Regions from separate parts of the Homo sapiens genome. Here all the other regions are linked to region 3. The links are contacts of gene promoters, found by promoter capture Hi-C in blood cells and fetal thymus (Javierre and others, 2016). All regions are on one chromosome and are shown on one strand. The core of a region is centred on a gene start or on the middle of the fragment in contact, and the rest is flanking DNA. Distances in the headings are between cores, read along the strand shown.

What was found. The method cuts DNA at HindIII sites, captures the fragments that hold promoters and counts their contacts. A CHiCAGO score of 5 or more calls a contact.
Region 1: the fragment with the promoter of DOK4 here is called in contact with the fragment with the promoter of SPMIP8 in region 3 in 4 of 17 cell types (monocytes, erythroblasts, fetal thymus and 1 more); the score reaches 7.4 in monocytes.
Region 2: a contact is called between the fragment with the promoter of CCDC102A here and the fragment with the promoter of SPMIP8 in region 3, in 1 of 17 cell types (neutrophils). The highest score is 8.8, in neutrophils.

The regions. Positions count from the first base shown.
Region 1 is chr16:57,485,043-57,487,742 of GRCh38, reverse strand. DOK4 (docking protein 4) reads left to right here and starts at 1,250. Exons shown (of 9, transcript NM_018110.5): 1 at 1,250-1,438. RefSeq lists a silencer at 1,070-1,369 and an enhancer at 1,201-1,997. The HindIII fragment of the contact is 22,139 bases long and covers 455-2,700 here.
Region 2 is chr16:57,535,230-57,537,929 of GRCh38, reverse strand. It overlaps CCDC102A (coiled-coil domain containing 102A), which reads left to right and starts at 1,359. Exons shown (of 9, transcript NM_033212.4): 1 at 1,359-1,430. It also overlaps a transcript of ADGRG5 not described here. RefSeq lists a silencer at 1,117-2,066. The HindIII fragment of the contact is 24,074 bases long and covers 1-2,700 here.
Region 3 is chr16:57,975,170-57,977,869 of GRCh38, reverse strand. It overlaps SPMIP8 (sperm microtubule inner protein 8), which reads right to left and starts at 1,326. Exons shown (of 8, transcript NM_199456.3): 1 at 1,236-1,326; 2 at 1-55. The coding sequence starts at 53. The HindIII fragment of the contact is 9,202 bases long and covers 1-2,700 here.

The DNA.
Region 1 (2,700 bases), core at 1-2,500, 490 kb after region 3:
CTTGGCCATGGGCCTGGGGCTGGTTAGCTCAGGCTGATCACAGACACCACAATGACCATCAGGGAAATTTTCAGACATCCAGAGGCAGCCTCCTTTTAAGCTCCCTGGGCAAGGCTGAGGCCCAGGCGTCTCCGGGGCAGGGGCATGCATTCCATGGGTGGGTGTTGGGATCCTTGGTCCCTCACTGCTTTAGGCCTATTCCTCTGAGACACCTGGACAGTAGCTGGATGTGGAGGTATTTTCATTTCTCAGGATTTTGGCTGTTCAGGTGGCCTATTGTTTTGTTTTGTATATATGGTCTAAAGCAGTGGTTCTCACACATTCGTGTGCATCAGAATCACCTGGCCTGTTAAAACACACATTTCTGCTGGAAACCCCCAAAAATTCTGATTTCATAGGTCTGAGTAGGGCAGGGAATTTGCATTTCTAACAAGTTTCAAGGTGATGGGAAGCTTCTGGTCCAGGGACTACACTTTGAGAAGCCCTGGTGTAAAAAGGTACAGACGTGAAAACCAGAGGGGGGACAGCTCCTCCCCAGAGGAGGCACTGGGCAACTTCTCTTGTCCCTGCCTGGCACAGCTGAGGCCTGTGACTGGGGATTCCGACAGATCAGTGAGTCAACCACTGCACAGGCCCGAAGGGCAGAGGTGAGGGGGTTGGGGGCTGGGTGGGGGCAGCAATGAAGGGGAATGAAGTTTGAGCTTGAGGGCAAAGTCTCAGGGGGACCTAGAATGGGAGAACTGGATGTTTTGAGGGTGGAGAGGAGACCAGGGAAGACAGAGGTGCTGGTGCGGCTACTTGAGGAGGGGTAGCAGAGGAGGTCACTGTGGGGCTGGGAGAGCTGGGCTGTGAGGGCCCAGAGAGTCATGATGGGGTTAGGGGAGCAATGGGTGTGTATGTGATTCCTGAAGAAGTGAAGGAATTGAGATATGGGGGCTGGGAGCTGATGTGGCGTATGGGTGTGTATGTGATTCCTGAAGAAGTGAAGGGGTTGAGATGTGGGGGCTGGGAGCTGATGTGGAGTTCAGCTTTCAGGGGCTGAGAGGCCATGTGGGCTTTGGGGCCCAGGGAGGGGCGGTGGGAATGAGCTGGGGGTACCGGGGGCGACCTGAAGCGGGTGCGGGGGTGCCAGGGCGCCAGGGCAGAATCGCGCGTCCCGCGGCTCGGAGGAATACGGCGGGGGCCGGCCGCCAGGGCGGGGCAGGGGGCGGGGCGCAGCGGCGAGACCTGGCGGAGGGGGGAGCGGAGCGGAGTCCCAGCCGGAGCCCCAGCCGGAGCCCGATCCCTAGCCCTGCGGCCGCGCCTCCCTCGCCGTCCCCGCCTGGAGCCCGGCGCCGCCGCCGCCCTGCCGCCCCCGCCAGCCGCGCCGTGACGCGGGCATGAGCCTGCTCCGCGGCGCCGCTGAGCAGGCGCTCCTGGCCCGGGCCTCGGCGCCCAGGTAAATTGGGGGGCGTGAGGCAGGGAGGGGGACATAGGCCGCCCAGAGCCTGCAAGAGTCTCGGCGACTCCCACCCCTGAGGACCCTCAGTCACTTCCTGAACCTGAGGACGCTCCGTCCCATGGGACCTTCCTACTCTCGGGTGGGGAGCTTAGAGACCCGCCCCCCAAAAGCCAGTGCCTGGGCCCTGAAACTCCCTGCGCTCTCTCCACCCGCAGCTTTCCTCTCCGGGGGAGCCCAGGTCGCGAGCTGACCTCACCCGCACCCACACAAACCTCATCCGAGCAACCCAGGCCCTGCGCTCCCGGGCCTGCCCCCCCGGAAGGGGCATAACCCAGCCCCTGGCAGCTCCCAACCTTCTCTCTGCCTTCCTGCTCCTCCCCGGGGCCTCCTGTTCGCTCACCTCCTCCAAATTCCAAGAGATGATTTTCTGTACCCCAGCTGGCCCCCACTGCCGACCCCCTCCTGCCTATGGGGTTTCTCCCCACAGCCCAAACTCATGGCCAGCTGCCTCCTGTCCTTGAACCTTTCTCCATTGGCCCCCAAGGTCCTGTCCACCTTCTCCCCCAGGGCCCGCAAGGCCCTAGATCCAGTTACATGCTTTCTATTACTGAAAAGGGGCATGAGCCGAGGCTGGGCACCTGGGTGATGTGGCAGAGCAGGGGCTCTGTGCAGCCTGCCTGCCCCAAGCCATGGGGACACGTCAGTTGCTGGGGCGCTTCCGCTTGGATGGAGGGTGTGGGTTGGAGGGGTCTGATGGCCAGGGCAGCGAGGGGCCTGGCAGTATCTCTAGGAGACTCCACTTGGGCAGTGTGAGGTGGGCTTGCTTAGGGCAGGTTCTTTCCTGGACCCTTTCAGAGGGATGTGGCGCTGGTACAGGCTCTTCCTGCCCCCACCCCCAACTCTGATCCCAGGAGCTGTGCCTCCTCTCCCCAGTTGCTTGCCTTGCTGTGCTGGTACTGGTTACTCCCAGCACTTCCCTCCTGGGCAGGGCAGCAGGGCTGGGCATGACCTCACCCCACAACCCTGGCCAAGGTGGGGCCGCCCAACTAGGCCTGGCCTCGATGTCAGCAGCATGCTCTTCCCTGAGGCAGCTCTGAACCAAACTGCGGGTCTTGGGCACAGCTGGTTCTCCAGTAACAACAGCCTGCTGGCCATGCCAGTCAGCGCTGAGACCCAGGAGCTGGGAGCCCACTGTGGCTCACGCACCTCTGGAAGCTGAGCCAGGTCCAGCCAGATGGAGGCTGGTGGTGGTGGAAGAA
Region 2 (2,700 bases), core at 110-2,609, 440 kb after region 3:
TTTCCTCAGCTGTAAAATGTGGATGCCCTTGTCCTCTGAGTACTCAAACCCCACATACATCTCCTATCTATCTCTGGCTGGTGAACAGACGCTTTCAACATTCAGCCACGCATAACAAATACAAAGCAAATGAATCGACAAGTGAAACTGCCAGTCTTGCAACGTATGGGATTTCATGAAGTTGGTGGAAGCAAAGCAGGAGAAATGGAACAGCCGCTGCCCACAGAGAAAGGGAACGTCTGCAAGGGAAGTGACCCAGACCCGAAAAAAGGCACTGGACTATCAAAGGATTCAGAGTGATCCTTGAGTTTGAGGAAGCTCTCAAATATTTTTGCAAAAATGAATCTCTTACTGCAAAAACCAGTTCAGAAGGGAAGGATGCTACATACTCAACTATTACAAGAAAAAGCAAGACTTCCAGTGTTAACATCTGATTCATTCTTGGTTCATTTTAAGGCGTGCGTGGTTGCAATCATAATCTAAACTCCGTTAATCACGGGGTAAAACTAATTTATCTTCGTAATATTTAGCTTCTTTTTCTAGGTAAAATCCCAATCAGGCCAGGTTTTCCCCACCATCTTGGTGAATTGTTGGTCTTCTTTTAAATAGATTCACCTCGGGGGCCTTCCAGGGTACAGGATGTAGTGGGGAGTCCTCCAGACGCCTGTCCCGGCTTTCCAGTCAAGACCACAAACATCCTACCCCCAATAGAGAGAAAGCCCCAAAACAGCTGGGCGTCCCCGAAGGCGAAGTACCGTAATTCCCCAGGGCCTGCCAACCACCATCGCAATGCAGAGAAAAGTCTCCGCCCGCCGGGCCGAGTGCTCCCCGCGCCCCCCACCTCTTAACAAGCGCAAGGTTGCTTTCGTCAACCCTTCTGTTGTACAGAAAGAGAAACTGAGGCCCGATGGGCACAGACTTGTTGGCCCACTTCCACTCGGTGGCAGAGCTGGCCCAGGGAAAAATGCAGGTAACAACAGTGAAGACTTGGTAAGCTCGCTCCACGTGCCGAGCTGGGACCCGCGGTGGCCGTTTCTGCTGGGGGCGCCTAGTACGTAGTTGGCGCTGAGGAAACCTGAACCAAGAAAGCCGAGCCCCCCCGCAACTCTCGGCCCCTCACGGGGGTGGGGCCTCCGTTGGGGTACGGCCCGCTCTGCAGCAGAGCCCACCGCCCCGGCCCGCACCCCTCGCCCCGAAGTTAGGCTGGAGCCCCCACCCCAGCAGCTCGGTGGGCCGGGGTCACAGCGGGGCCGCAGCCTGCGACCGCTTCGGGGGCCCCGCCGCTCCCCCTGCTTCCCCTCCCCCCGGGAGGGAGGAGGAGACTCCGCGGCCCTCCCTCGGCCCCTCCGGCGGCGGTCGCAGCTGCACGGTGCCCGCTCTACCCCGCCGCAGCGGCTGGGACGTACGGAGCCCGCAAGTCCCGGCCCGAGGTGAGCGGGGGCGGCAGGCCGGGGGGCGGCAGGCCAAGGCGGCCCGGGAACTTGCTCCAGGCCGCGCGCCTTCCGCGGGAAGGAAGGGGTTAAGTTGTGGGGCGTGCTGGAGGAGCAGACACAGTCGGGGCGCCCGCGGCAACCCCCGAACTCAGAGCAGAACTTTCTAGACGCCTCCCCGGCCTCCCTCAGCCCCCGGAACCCCAGGTCTCCGGTGGGGAGGGGCCGCGGGGTGATGGGGGAGGGGAGGCGCCTCCGGAATGCCGCGGCCCGGGCCGGACGGGAGGGGGCGGCGGGCGGGGACGGAATTTGGGACTCTCCCGGGGGACCCAACGTGGTCGCCATGGCGAATGCGGGATGGACGGGCGGCGCTGGCCAATCAGAGCACGGCGCCCTGCCCAGAGCCGCGGCGACTGCCAATGGGGGCCATGCGGTGGGGTGGGCGGGACCGCGCGGCGCGGGCCGGGAACCCCCTCCACCCTCCGCCCGTCGCTAGGTGGAGCGGGGCGGTTCGCAGGGCCAGCGGCTTGGGAGGGGTCGACTAAGTGAGGACTAAGGCGACGCAGGGCTGGGGCTTCAGTTTCAGTACCTTAGGTGGGGGTGGTGTCCACCTTCCCACCCCCGCTCTCCCAGGGCTCTTGTGGGGGTTGGATTGGTTTGGGTTCGGGAGGTCTGCCCACCTGTTAGAGCGTTCAGGAATCTTTTTAGTGCCTCTCCCCATCCTGTAGGTAAGGAAACTGAGGCCCAGAGAGGGCAGGGACTTGCAGATATCACACAGCATATCAGTGATGGAGCTGGGACTAGCGGGATGTCTGCTGTACAAGAGTGAAGAGTTCACGGTGTTGCCGAGAGGGGTGGGGCTGGGGTCGGGGTGGGGCTGGGTCCCCATGAAGGTTCACCCCACCATTCCAGCTGTGCGTATCCACTTGGCCTGGTGCCTGCAGACCCCATCGTGTAGGTGCTCTCGGGGGCATTGTGCCCCTCAGGTGGCTAAGATCCAGAAGAGGAGGCATCCCATCACCAGCTCCCTACTCTGGCCTTGCTGCTGGTCCGCGGTGTGGACACAGACACGTAGCTGTCCCTCTGGGCCTCAGTTGGTCCATATGTAAAGAAAGGAGTTCAAATCAATGATCCAGGCTGTCTCTGTGGCTCCTCAGTCTAAGATGGGGCTACCTGGGAATAGGCCAGGGGTGCCTACCCCTGGGCTTAGGTCCAGCCTGGAGGCCTAGCCGCCATCCCTTCCTTTCCCGCCAGCCAGCTCCCCCCAGAG
Region 3 (2,700 bases), core at 77-2,576:
TACACATGTGTGGAGCCATCGTCCCAGGGCACCAGGTCAATGATGCGGGCCATAGCTGGGGGGCAGAGGGTTCTAAGGGGCTCACCCTGGGCTCATGCTGGCCAGACACCCTTCTCTGCATGAAAACAACCTTGGCCAGTGCCGATGTCTACTTGCCAAACATTTATTTAGCACCTACTGTGTGCCAGGCCATTTTTCTGGAGCTCAGCATGAGGTGGCAGGAACATTCAGATAACAGAAGATAACAGAGACAACCCTCCCACTCCCCTTCCAACACACACATACACACACACACACACACACACACACTCACATTGTGCCATGGCTGTGAGGGAGGTCAGTACAGAGTGTGTGTTTCTGGGGAGGCTGGGGTTAGGACATTCAAGGAATGGTCTAAAAGAGGTGGTATTTGAGTCTATTCGTTTTTTTTTCTTTCTTTCTTTTCTTTTTTTTTTTTTTTTTGAGACAGTCTCACTCTTCTGCTCAGACTGAAGTACAGTGGCGCCATCTTGGCTCAATGCAACCTCTGTCTCCTGGGTTCAAGTGATTCTCCTGCCTCAGCCTCCTGAGGAACTGGGATTATAGGCATCCACCACCACATGTGACTAGTTTTTGTATTTTTAGTAGAGACGGGGTTTCACTGTGTTGGCCAGGCTGGTCTCGAACTCCTGACCTCAAGTGATCCACCCGCCTCAGCCTCTCAAAGTGCTGGGATTACAGGTGTGAGCCACCTTGCCTGGCGAGTCTATTCTTAAATAATAAGCAGGAAAGTGCAGCAGCAAGCGGGTTCAGAATGTAGCTTAGTATGCCGTATACCTCTGGGTGAATAATTATGGACTTGCCCTAGCTATTTACCCAAAATTCTACAGATTGACTCAGAAAGATTTTCAGGAAGGGGAGCAACATGATATATTTAAACTAGAAAAGCATTACTGGATACCCAGTGCCTCCCTTTAAAAAGCAGATAGTCCCAGGAGCCTTTCAGTCATTTACACTTTAGTGAGAATTTGTTGAGACAGCTTGCTTTCTTCCTGACCCTGAGTTAGAGGTGAGAGGTGGAGGTGGAAGCTAGGGTGGCAGGAGGAGAGAGGACCTTAGATCATGGAGGAGCAGGGAGGGGGCATGGTGACAAGGCATGGGGAAGCTGCCTTAGGGGATGTGACTGCCTGGGGAGGGACAGGGAGGGGGATCACGGATATGGGGAAGAGAGCAAGGGCTCCCTGCTTCTGACTCACCAATAGCAGCTACCTTATCTGTAGGGCCCAGGCCCAGGTGCACAGGCTTATAAGGACTTTCAGTTCTTTGACTGCTCAATGGGCAGAAGAGGAAGGGAGGTGGACGAGCCCTTATTATGGACAGCAGCAGAATAAAGGAACATTGTGCACAGACAATGCCCATTGCAGCCTGATTCTGAGGCACCCACTCCTTAGCAACCCTGGCAACTACAGGCTCTAACAAGAGCCTGTGCCAGAATTCCTGTGCTCTGGCCACTCCCTTCCAGCCTTCCTGAAGGCTGTGGTCTCCCAGGCCTTAGCACAGGCCAGGCATCTTGGGAAATGTCAGATGGGGAGCTGGGGTTCCCTGGAGGTAGTCAGGCCAAGGCAGGCCAGAAATGGCTACTGAGCCCACTGCAGGCTGTGTAATCCTGGGCTAATTACCGCCTCTCTCTGGGACTCAAGGCTCTCCTCTGTGTTAGGCAAGGACTCTAGGATCTGCCGTTAGGAGGATCTGGATGCTGAGAGGGATCTCCCCTCCCTGGAACCCTCAGGGAAGAGGGCACTGCACTGTCTGCCAGCCCTTGAGTCTCCAGGAGTGGAGATTAGCTGTGGCCAGTATCCAGGGTAAGCGTGAGGGGATCAGGGAGAGTGGTGGACTCAGCAGGCCAGGGATTAGCAGATGATACTCCACCCTCAGCCCCTGCAGGACTGCAGGCTCCCAGAAAAGCCAGGCTGTGAGTGCCCAAGGCCAGCACCCCAAAGCCCTGGGGCCTGCCCACCATCCTGGTCACAACCATTAGAGACAGACCCCCAAGGTGAGGAAACCCCAGGAGATCCTAACTTATTTGCATATATTGGCATGTGCTTTTGCATATACCTGCCCAGGGGCTGAACCTGATGGGTCTTGGAGCCCCTCCTGTGAAATTCTTGTAGGATTTGTTTCCCCAGTTGCTCCTCCTCCAGTGCTCCATACAGCTTCCAGAACAGCATTCCTAACTGCTACCCCTTACAAAAAACCTTCCCAGAGTTGACTCCACTCACCACCCCACCCCCAATTTATTTCTTGACTCTTTTAAAGTTATAAAATAGAAGAAATACAGAAAGTGAATAAATATCTAATGTAACTAATAATTTACAAAATGAGACCCCGTATAACTACCACCCACCCTGGTCAAGACATGGAGTACTACTTTTAAAACAGTTTATCAGTTTCTTAAAAAATGAAACAGAAATGTACCATATGATTGGGTCATCTGGAAGATTCTACCCCAGGAGGCTTCCCAAGAGAAATGAAAGTATATTGTGAGGCACGATGGCTCACACCTGTAATCCCAGCACTTTGGGAGGCTGAGGTGAGCAGATCACTTGAGGTTGGGAGTTTGAGACCAGCCTGGCCAACATGGTGAAAACCTGTCTCTACTGAAAACACAAAAATTAGCTGGGCGTGGTGGTGCAAGCCTGTAATCCCAGCTACTCAGGACGC